Linked DNA regions of Homo sapiens: all the other regions are linked to region 3. The links are contacts of gene promoters, found by promoter capture Hi-C in blood cells and fetal thymus (Javierre and others, 2016). All regions are on one chromosome and are shown on one strand. Each heading gives the region's core, a stretch centred on a gene start or on the middle of the fragment in contact. The rest is flanking DNA. Distances are from core to core; before and after follow the strand shown. Region 1 overlaps TTTY14 (testis expressed transcript, Y-linked 14). Region 2 has its middle 80 kb from the start of EIF1AY. Region 3 holds the start of KDM5D (lysine demethylase 5D).

Region 1 (3,813 bases), core at 258-2,757, 670 kb after region 3:
AGCGCCTGGGGGTTCTGGGAGCCCGGGGGCTGCTGTGAGGGGCTGCCGAGGGGGGCCCTGGGCAGGTGTTGACTGCTGCGGAACTCGGGGGGCGCCGACTTCTAACACACAACAGGGGCGCCTTCGCTGTTCGGTTCTGGTCGTAGTTGTTATTCTCAGCGTCCCTATTATTATTAGTAGTAGTATTCTTTTTATTTTATTTATTTATTTATTTTTGAGACGGAGTCTTGCTCAGTCGCTCAGGCTACAGTGCAATGGCGCGATCTCAGCTCACTGCAAGTTCCGCCTCCCGGGTTCACGCCATTCTCCTGCCTCAGTCTCCCGAGTAGTTAGGACTACGGGCGCCCCCACCATGCCTAGCTAAATTTTTTTGGTATTTTTAGTAAAGACGGGGTTTTACCGTGTTAGCCAGGATGGTCTCGATCTCCTGACCTCGTAATCCGCTCACCTTGGCCTCCCAAAGTGCTGGTATTACAGGAGTGAGCCACTGCGCCTGGCCAGCGTTCCTATTATTATTGCTCTTCTGGAATGAGAGCAGGCAGCTGCCGGGATCCCAGCCGGAAGGGGCGGGCGAAAGGCAGGGTTGCTGGGGGCGGGCGAAAGGCAGGGTTGCTGGAGGCGCGCGTAGGTTCGAGTAGGGACTGGAATGCGGGCCAACAGTGTGGGGGTTATTAGGGGGGAGGGTAGGCAGGTCGGAGGAGGGAGTTGGGAGGAAAGCGGCGGCGGTGGCGGCTTCAACAGCAGCTCTTGCCCTTAAGGAACAATGTGAGACGTTGCCTGAAATGTTAATTTCCGTTTCTCATTTCATCATCCAGGGCGTTGGGGAAGGGAGTGGGGAGTGATGTGAGAGTGTGTGTATGTGTGTCCCTGCCACTTGGATTCTGTGTGTGTGTGTGTCCCTGCCACATTCAGTCGTGTGTGTGTCCCTGCCACATGGATTCAGTCTTGTGTGTGTGTGTCCCTGCCACATTGATTCAGTCCTGTGTGTGTGTATGTGTGTGTGTCCGTACCTGCCACATTGTTTCAATCCCCTCTCAGAGGGATTGTGCTGTTAACGCTTGTATCTGTGTCATTTGGGAAGGTCGGTGGCAGGGGAGTCTAGGTTTTTCTCTAGGCCTGCTCTTTTCCTGGTGCCCGATTGACGTTTTCTGCTTCTGTTGTGTTTTTGAAAGGTATTCTTGTATACGAGTTCCAAGAAGTTTTGGAAGACACTGGGAAAATGAAGATTCTCTGACAGCTCCCTTTGCTTTAACTATTTTTCTTATAACAGTTAAGATGTAACATGCTTAGGTTTCATGGTTTTTGCAGGTTATGAGTAGTTTTGTATCCATTTGCAAGAACTGGATTTTTTTTTTTTTTTTGGTAGAGAAATCAGATTTCAGGCTTTCTTACATGAGGAGAGAGTTTCATGCGGTGATTTGAGCAATATCCTTTACACTTGAAATGAGAAATAAAATTGTTCACAATTGTTGAACTGCAAAACTTAGAATCTTTTGATCCTTTTTGAGGCAATGAGACTTATTCAGCCAACATGTAAGATGATATTGCTTGTGGAAAAAGTACTATTGAAACAGTTACTATTTTTGTTGTGTGCAAATGCCATTAATGGCATAACTAGGATAGTTCAAAATCAGAGACCCTGAGATTTTATTTGGCGTCTCTGAGCTCTTGATTTCTTTTATTAAATGTTGGCTGCGTGGAATACTTAGAGTTCTGTTAGTGTCTTTTGAGAGTGATTGAGCAAGTCCTGTAATATTACTTTGCAACTGGTACTTTGGTGTTTTACATAGTAAAATTAATGGTTCATCAAATGTAAGAGGAAATTTACTTTGCATATGGGCAATGAGCCCATCATCCATTAAATAACAGAGAGAGTATCAGTAAATGCTGGTTCAGAAAATAATCTACATTTGGTTGCCAAAATAAGTGTTTAGGTCTGTCCATTACCTTGTATAAGTCTCTTCATCGGTCAAATGGTAAGTGTAGTGGATGAGTGTTATTTAATAGCAAGGTATTTGCTAGTGAATAGGTGAAGATACATTGCTTATCTAACAGCATGTTGTATCAACTTATTTAAATTGCTGTGTAGTCAGTGTTCTGTAGGAATTGTGACCCGTTTGGTAAACTTTATAGAAAAATTGAATGAATTCAAATAACTAAAAGTTACTGTTTTGAAATGTTGAAATGTTTTCAGTGTGTGTTTTTTTAATTTAAATTTTAAATGGAATGTCTGTGCAATTCAACTTTCTAGCTTTTATCGTAAAACCATATGAAAGAAGGTGTCAATCTTCAGCTCTTGGAACTCAGGCAACTAAATAATTGCCTTAGAAAGCATTTTTTTTTTTTTTTGAGGTGGAGTTTCGCTGGTTGTCCAGGCTGGAATGCAATGGTGCAATGTCCGCTCACTCCAACCTCCACCTCCCTGGTTCAAGTGATTCTCCTGCCTCAGCCTCCTGAGTAGCTGGGATTACAGACATGTGCCACAATGCCTGGCTAATTTTTGTTTCACCGTGTTGGCCAGGCTGGTCTTGAACTCCTGACCTCACGTGATCCACCCGCCTCGGCCTCCCAAAGTGCTGGGATTACAGGCGTGAGCCATGGCACCTGACCCCCATAGAAGCCATTTTAGCCTTAGAACATGATCCACTTTAATGATCACTTCATTAATTTTGATAGACGTTTCTATTATTTTATTGTGTATTATTTGTTCATTTGTTTTTGAGATGGAGTCTCATTATGTCACCCAGCTGGAGTGCTGCAACCTCGGCTCGCTGCAACCTCTGCCTCCCATGTTCAAGTGATTCTCCTGCCTCTTGCTTTTCGTAATATAGAGACAGGGTCTCTATGTTGCCCAGGCTGGTCTTGTACTCCTGGGCTCAAGTGAGCTGCCCACCTCAGCCTCCCATGTTACTGGGATTACAGGCAGGAACCACTACATCCGGCCCAGGGGTTCTATTATTAAGTGGCTTTTATTTGTTTGAGAAACCTTTTTCATGGCATCTCTTAACCTAGAGTCAGATTCAGCTTATATTGTTTTATGTATGTATAAGGCAGAACTTCAGATGTTATTTTTTTTAATAACATCCCAAATGATGATTGTGGCCTAATTCTGAATACATGCCTCATTCTTTTACCCCGCCTCAGGCCTCCAGTCGGATCCTGCGTCATTCTGGCTGCCTTGGCCTTTCCTTTCCTCAGTTGAGCCAGGTACCATAGTTTTTGGCATGGCTTTGACATATCTATCGCTGTCTCCCATGCAGATGCCTCCATCACAACTCCAAGATAACTGTTACTCAGCCTTTGGGTCTTAGTTTAATATCACTTGATTTTAGCATTTAGCAAGCCTTTTTTTTTTTTTTTTTTTGAGACAGGATCTCACTGTGTGGCTCACTATGGAGTGCAGTGGCGTGAACATGGTTCCCTACAGCCTTGACTTCCCGGGCTGAAGCGATCCTCCCACCTCAGACTCCTGGGTGGCTGGGACCACAGGCATGTGCCACCATGTCCAGCTAATTTACTTTTATTTTTTTAGAAACGGGGTCTCCTGGCCTAGTGCAGTGGCTCATGCCTGTAATCCCAGCACTTTGGAAGCCCGAGGTGGGTGGATCACAAGGTCAGGAGTTCGAGACCAGCCTGGCCAACAAGGCGAAACCCCATCTCAACTAAAAAAATACAAAAATTAGCTAGGCATGGTGGCATGTGCCTGTAATCCCAGCTACTCGGGAGGCTGAGGTTGGAGAATTGCTTACCTGGGAGGTGGAGGTTACAGTGAGTCGAGATTGTGCCACTGCGTTCCAGCCACGGTGACAGAGC
Region 2 (3,722 bases), core at 1,114-3,613, 910 kb before region 3:
GTACCTACCGCTTGCTGTCTGCCTCAGAGATAGAGAACAGCTGCCTTCAGCTATTCTCCCCTGAAGCTATGCAGAGGCTTCTGACCTTTCAGAAGGCCTGCTCCTTTCCCTATAAATTTCTCCCACCACTCTGACCGATCTCCTGCCGTTTCACATATAACTCACAATTATTTCATTCATTTTGACTTTAGATATTCTGATGACTCTGTTCTTTGGTGATGATGATCTTTCCACAATAAAATTCCCAGGAATCCTTTGAGCTTCTTGCATTTGGCTGTCTAGATGTCTGGCAAGGCCAGAGACAATTTTCTCAATTTTTGCCTCAAGTTAAGTTTTCAAAACTTTTAGACTTCTCCCTCAAGAACATCAATTAATCTTAGGTTTGTCAGTTTTACATAATTCCATATTTCTTGGAGACTGTGTTCAGTTTTTGAATTCTTTTTATTTTGTCTTTGTTTCATTGGGTTAAAAGTCTTGCCTTTGAGCTCTAAAATCTTTTCCTCTACTTGTTCTTATCTATTATTGAAACTTTCCACAGTGTTTAGTATTCCCCTGTGTGTCTTTAATTTCCAGAGAAGTTATGATTGTTCTGATTCCTTTTTTCTTATTATAGCTATTTCTTTGGAAATTTAAAAATTCATATCCTATTTTTAAAATTTTTGGTTGTTTTTTACTTTTCTCTGATATCTTCTCGAGTATCATAATAATCAATCTTCTCAATTCTTTGGCATTTCAGAGGTTTCATCTTGGTTTAGATTTACTGCTGGGGAGCTGGTATAATCTCTGGAGAGAATTATAGAGCCTGTTTTGTCATATTATTAGAATACCTTTCTTGTTTCTTCTCACATGGATAAACTATTTTTTTAAGTTTTTCTTGAATTTATTTTTTACTTGATTATTTTTTCTTATTCCTAATAATCTGACTTTGATGTTTATAGTTTATTTTAGCTTAATTTTGTTCTTGGTGCTTGTAGTGGTGATGACCCTGTATGAGTTTTTTTTACTTATAGAGCGTCCTTTTGTGCTGGCTTTCTGAGATGCTGGTTGTAGTAGTAATGTTCTTGGTATGTGGATGAGTTCACTGGCTTCTATGGTTTTGGAATGGCAGGGATCTCTTGAAGCTTAGCTCATTCTCAAGTGGTATACATTTCACTTATTTATTTAATTTTCCCCCTAAAATGTGTACATTTCATTTATTTATTTAATTTCCCCCCAGGATTTTATTTACTGAGTTGATGATTCAGTCAATAGGGCAGGTAACCCTGGGTAGACACTGGTTGTAGCTAATGTGGGTAGATCTAGGAAGATGTAATACCCAGTGTTGGGTAGAGGTTCCAACCTTTGATGAAGGTGGCTGTGGGAGCTCTCAATTAGATGTGCTGAGGATTTATCAAAGTGAAGGGGAGAGCTACTTTAGCACCCCTGCCAGACAAGGAGAAAAGTTATCTGCCTCTCAGCCTCATTCCTGTCCCATATTTTAGCTTTTCAGATCAAACAGGTACCTCTTATCATCCATAGGAACGTTTATGTTCCAAGTAGACAGAAATTGTGACTCTGCCTGTTGTGCGGGTCTGAATCAGGGAAGCACTCCTCCTGCGGGGATGCAATTACCCTGAATTGTTCCCGGAAGTTTGCCTGTAGATTAATTCATGCTGCATCCCATAAGACAAGCCCCAGCTCTGTCTGCAAAGGTATACGGTGTGGCAGGGGGTGGGAGTGGGAACAGACCTCTTCTCCAAGCCTCTTTACAATCACGGAGGTTGCCTGCCTGTTGGGGTAGAGGTACAGAATTTCCCTGCTTTAACTAGCACTGCAATTATGTCTTTGCTGTAAGAAGCTTCCCACCAGTGGGAAAGATAATGGATGGAAGGCCTTCCACCCAGATTCCTTTGTCCCACTGGGTGTTCCCTTGATATGGTGCACGATCCTTCCTTCTCCTGTGAATGGAACTTTCTGAGAGCTGCACTGCATTTATTGTTATTGCTCTTCTGAGTCTAGCTACCCAGATGGGCTGCCAAACTTCAAGCTCGTGCTGGGAAATGTCTGGAAGGGATCTAGTGATGCAACCTGACTTCAGGTCTCCTAGTAGTAGATACCAGTGCCTGCTCCCTTAGAGGTGGCAGGGGAATGACATACACCATTTGATTCCTTAGTTGTATATAAACTTAATGTGATGGCTTTCTTGAATGCTGATTTTAATTGTAATGAACTTGTAACATGTACACACTTATGACCTGTCATTGGCCAGGTTTTTGTAGGCAGTGGTGTTAGCTGAGATTCCCATAACTATTTTCTCACTCCTAGGAGCAGTGCTCTTCTGCTGAGAGATGCTGTAATGGCCTAAGCAGTTTGGCCTCCCACCAAGAGATGGCATATAAAAGAGAGCACCAGCTGTGGTAGTAGCAGTAAGATTTGTGCTTACTTTGTTTTTCTGTAGAAGTATTCTGGGTTCTCAGGTGATAGATGGGGTCATAAAACTCCTAAAAGTTTATGTTATTTGTGTTAAGCTACCAGGGTAGGTAGAGAAATACCATTAGGTGGGGTCAGTGTTAGGTATGAGCTCACACTCTCCTTGGGCAGGGCCAGCTGTGGCCACTGTGTTTATCAGGTCACTAGGTAATATTCCAGAAAGTAATATTCCACTAGGTAATATTCCAGAAGAAAATATCCAGGTCACTAGGTAATATTCCAGAAGGGAGTAAAACTGCCTCTGCTGGGCAGTAAAGTTCACAAATGGTGTGGGGAGTAGCAGGAAATTATAAGCCTCACCCAGGTCCCAAAAACCTGACAAAGCTGGTCTCACCTGAACAGTGCCCCATTAACAGCACCTTGTTTAAATCCAGGTAGCTTGCACACACAACTCAGATCTTCCCCACTTTGTAAGCTTCCCTGCAGAGATAACAACCTTGATTTCTATTCCATGACCCTCTATGTCTTCATGTGAAGCTGGCTGCCCAGCTCCTGTGCTCCTGTCTACAGTATCCTCACACTTGTCCCCAGTTGTGTTCGAGGAAGTTTCTCCCCATTTAGAGAATTACAAAATTCACTTGGGAGCTCCTTCCACACTGTGACACTCCCTGATCTCATTGTTTGACTTTCATGAAGGCCCTTGTGAGTTGTAGTCATGGATGACTTCCCTCAGCTCATGCTGGATACTAGGAATGCGTACAAGGTTCTTTCTGCTGCTGCTTCTACTTTTACATTTCATGTGGCCCCCTAAATCTCTTTGGGTAGGGTTAAGGGCTTCTCCTGTAATCTGGATGTTCAGATTACCTAGGGTTGTGTGCTCAGATGCAGGCTTTCTAACTTTAACACTCTGGAAACATTTTTTTACCTGCTTCATAGAGTAGGAATCAGCTTGCCACTTCTTTTTTTTTTTTTTTTTTTTTTTTTTTTTGAGACGGAGTCTCGCTCTGTCGCCCAGGCCGGACTGCGGACTGCAGTGGCGCAATCTCGGCTCACTGCAAGCTCCGCTTCCCAGGTTCACGCCATTCTCCTGCCTCAGCCTCCCCAGTAGCTGGTACTACAGGCGCCCGCCACTACGCCCGGCTAATTTTTTGTATTTTTAGTAGAGACGGGGTTTCACCTTGTTAGCCAGGATGGTCTCGATCTCCTGACCTCATGATCCACCCGCCTCGGCCTCCCAAAGTGCTGGGATTACAGGCGTGAGCCACCGCGCCCGGCCGCCACTTCTTTTAAAGGTTGTGTGGATTCTTTCAGTT
Region 3 (3,609 bases), core at 846-3,345:
ATCAAAGACTTTAATGTAGAAGCTAATACTATAAAGGTCCTAGAATAGAGGAGAAGAGTACATCCTTGTGATTTTGGGTTAGACAAAATCCCCTCAGAGGCAACACTGAAAGTACAAGTGACAATAGAAAAAAGCAAACTGGATAAAGATCAAATTAAAAATCTTTCTGTTCAAAGTTTACTATTAGGAAAGAGAAAAGCCAGCTTACAGAATTATTTTTTATAAAAATCAAATATTTGATAAAAGAATCAGATAAGATTACAACTAAACAAAAAAAGACAAACCAATGTGAAAAGAGCCAAAAATTTTGAATAGACATTTCTCCAGAGAAGGTATATAAAGCATATGAACAAGCCAACAACCTTACGAAAAGATGCTCAACACTACTGTATCATTAGTAATTCAAGAAGTCCAACTCAAAACTCTATGAGATCTCATACACATTGTAATGGTCAAATCAGTAAGTCATGTAATTATAGTATTGGTGAGGACATGAAGAAACTAGAACGGTATTCCACTTTAGATGGAAATTAAATGATGAAGATGCTTTGGAAAAGAAAAGTTTAAACCTAAAGTTCCCATATAACCCACTAATTCTACTTGTAGGTGTATACACACGAGAAATGACACTAAGCATGCACACAAAAACCGGTACACAAATGCTAATAGCAACATTATAATAGCTAAAAGTAGAAATTGAAATATCTATTTACTAATGAATTCATAAAATATAAAGCTGTATTATAATGAATTATCTTGAACAGAGAAAAAAGATCTCATCATTTGAAATAATACAGGCTCTATAACTAATTTTATGAAATAGAACTCTATAACTCTAACTTTATGAAACAGAAAAAGTATGTAGATAAAACTAGGAAAAAGAAAGCAGAAAATTAAGTAACAACTTTTGAAACAGGAATATATATGTAATGTAGTATAATAAACTCATGAAGCCGATAATCTAGATGAAATGGATAAATTGTTAAAAAAAAAAACGGAAATGCCAAGAATCGTACAATACGAAACAATTGTCAAACTATCAAACTTTAAGGCACTTCTGGCAGTGCCCTTCCAAATAAAATCTACCATTTGATTTTTAAAACTTACCTTTTGCGTATTTTTCAAAAATATATGGAGAACAAAAAGATACTACAGTAGTGAACTGATTAAAAAAAAACAGAATAGCAATGTAGGGGGATTTTTGCTTAACGGGTGTAAAATATTGTAAATAAAATTATAGGAAATAAAGTGTAACATCTTGTTTTGAAATAAAACATCGCAATAAAGTATAATTTCCCTTAAAAACAGCATGATATTTCCACATCAAAAAACGGATCATTAGCAGTGTGTTTCTTTTGATTTATGGTACGTGTGTTTAGCGATGTTGAAGGTTTACTGTAATCTGTCCAGGTCTTTGTGATCATTTTAAAATTTAGGGTGCTCCTAGGTAATTTTTAAGGGATGTTTATCATGTGCAGTAAAGGTTTTATTCAAAAACATTTAGCACTTCTTTTCCCCGTCCTAAAGTCCAAGCTCGAGTTGGTAAAAAATCCAACGACAAATGTGCCCACTTGAAGTGCACTGTTAATGCAACAGTTTACAAGAACATAAATACATTGTACCGGCATCCTGCCTCCTAAACGTCTTGTGACAGGAACGTTCTCGAGCTGAGAACCCAGTGAGTCTTCAGAGAATGTTAGTAAACACTTTCACATGAACGGATATCGCCGGCGGTTTGTCCTGGCAGGAAAAAAAAAAGGTGCGTTTCTACGGACATTTCCGCAAAGGAGGAATTTTCTCCGAGAAATCCTTCGTTGATCAGCACCACAGCCTTTTACGGTCCTTCCCTGCAATACGCAGGCGTAACTTGCGCAGTGGTCCCATTTTAAAAAAGATCCGGCCATACTATTTTTATCTTGCTTTTTCGTTCTGTCGCAGTACTGTTTAATATGAGTCCAGCGACGGCTCTGTGACTGTTTTCCTCTGGTAAAATCGCTCTTGCGTCCTCAGCGTTTATCTCAGGTGCGGAAGGTCTCACAGGTTTGGAAATAGCGCCGGAAAAATCGATCCGCGGAGTGAGACGGCTCGTACCACACTGCAGGGCCCGGAGGTCAAGATGGTGGCTGTAAAACTAGGATCCCTGACGATTGGTAAGCAGCTACGGGATTAAAGTAACCTTGAAATTCTCAAGAAAATGAAATTTTCATAGGCCTTTTAGTAGGAGGAACCAGCGCGTCATTAAAGACAATGTGATTCTTATTTTACAGCTTAGCATTAAGGCCCGACATGGAACCGGGGTGTGACGAGTTCCTGCCGCCACCGGAGTGCCCGGTTTTTGAGCCTAGCTGGGCTGAATTCCAAGACCCGCTTGGCTACATTGCGAAAATAAGGCCCATAGCAGAGAAGTCTGGCATCTGCAAAATCCGCCCACCCGCGGTAAGTCTTTGAAACAAAATTTGGGAATGGGTAGCCTTTGGTTTGAACGTTGGGGCAGTTTACCACTTGGCGAGGCGTTATTTACACTCATGACCAGAAACCCTTAGCACCAAATTTCTCATTTAACTTTTCTGACCCGAACAAGCTGGCATCAGAATATTAGTATCAGATCGCCACATTCCACGGGGTTCTAAACATCTGACTGCTGTAGGGACAAAAATATAAGATTCAAATATTTCTACGTTCTGCTGTTATTAAATATAGTTTAGGCATACACAAGCTTTTATTACATTTAACCGCAAAAAAATAGCTTACTCAGAAGTACTTGATCTATGACAGAAGCAAGTTATATAAGCTTGTGTGTTAACCACTTGGACTGGTGTTTTCTTTCTTTGATATGACCTTAGATGTATGTAGCAAATATAGCAAATAATGGGAGTGATGTGGCATCCTTTGCCATCAATTAAATTTATTATTAAACGTAGACCATTTTGGGTTGCTATACTGAAAACTACTAAATGAACCTCGTAGAAGTTTGACTGAATTAAGAATGTAAACTGAAATAAGCCTGGGCTGTCGTCGTGAACAACTAACACAATATTCAGAGAAGTCAAAAAGTTTTCGCAGAGCATACAGCTTTTTTCTCATATATTGAACCAGGCTGCAACGTTATTTTTATGTGGATGTTCGCACTTCTCAGCATTTGCAATTAAACTTTTTCGTACTGCTGGGAGTGGGAAGAGATAATGGCTTAGGTTTTAAAAAGTGAAACAATTTTTTATCTGCATTACATTTATCTTCATTTTAGTAAGGACTCATAACCCAAATAGCATAGTGTTTGTTCAGATGTGCGTCATTCCTTGGAAGTCGAGTCGCTTTCTAGCCTTGGGATTATAGAGGTTTTTTTTTTTTTTTTCGTCTGTTACGAAGGACACATATCAAGGAGAGTTTTGGATTTGCAGGGTTTTTCCTTTTTTTTTTTTTTTTGCAGTTAATCTTGATTATGAAGAAGGAATCATTTGAGGCCCTTGTGTACAAAAATGGTTACCAGAAGACTTTAAAAGAGTGGGAACAAATGATTGTGGTTTTCACTATCTTCATCCTTTACTGTGCCATAGTTACCAGGTCCTTACACTTTCTTCTAGGATTGGCAGCCTCCTTTTGCAGTAGAAG

What was found. The method cuts DNA at HindIII sites, captures the fragments that hold promoters and counts their contacts. A CHiCAGO score of 5 or more calls a contact.
Region 1: a contact is called between a fragment that was not itself captured here and the fragment with the promoter of KDM5D in region 3, in 1 of 17 cell types (neutrophils). The highest score is 7.0, in neutrophils.
Region 2: a contact is called between a fragment that was not itself captured here and the fragment with the promoter of KDM5D in region 3, in 1 of 17 cell types (fetal thymus). The highest score is 5.8, in fetal thymus.

The regions. Positions count from the first base shown.
Region 1 is chrY:19,072,893-19,076,705 of GRCh38, reverse strand. All of the region lies in intron 1 of TTTY14 (testis expressed transcript, Y-linked 14), which reads left to right. Among named protein-coding and RNA genes, the nearest start is that of TTTY14, 2.7 kb to the left of the region's middle. The HindIII fragment of the contact is 8,631 bases long and covers 1-3,813 here.
Region 2 is chrY:20,654,156-20,657,877 of GRCh38, reverse strand. No RefSeq gene overlaps it. Among named protein-coding and RNA genes, the nearest start is that of EIF1AY, 80 kb to the right of the region's middle. The HindIII fragment of the contact is 1,047 bases long and covers 1,840-2,886 here.
Region 3 is chrY:19,743,212-19,746,820 of GRCh38, reverse strand. It overlaps KDM5D (lysine demethylase 5D), which reads left to right and starts at 2,095. Exons shown (of 27, transcript NM_004653.5): 1 at 2,095-2,150; 2 at 2,268-2,436; 3 at 3,582-3,609. The coding sequence starts at 2,287. It overlaps KDM5D-DT (KDM5D divergent transcript), which reads right to left and starts at 2,036. Exons shown (of 3, transcript XR_938630.4): 1 at 1,108-2,036. The HindIII fragment of the contact is 5,320 bases long and covers 1-2,718 here.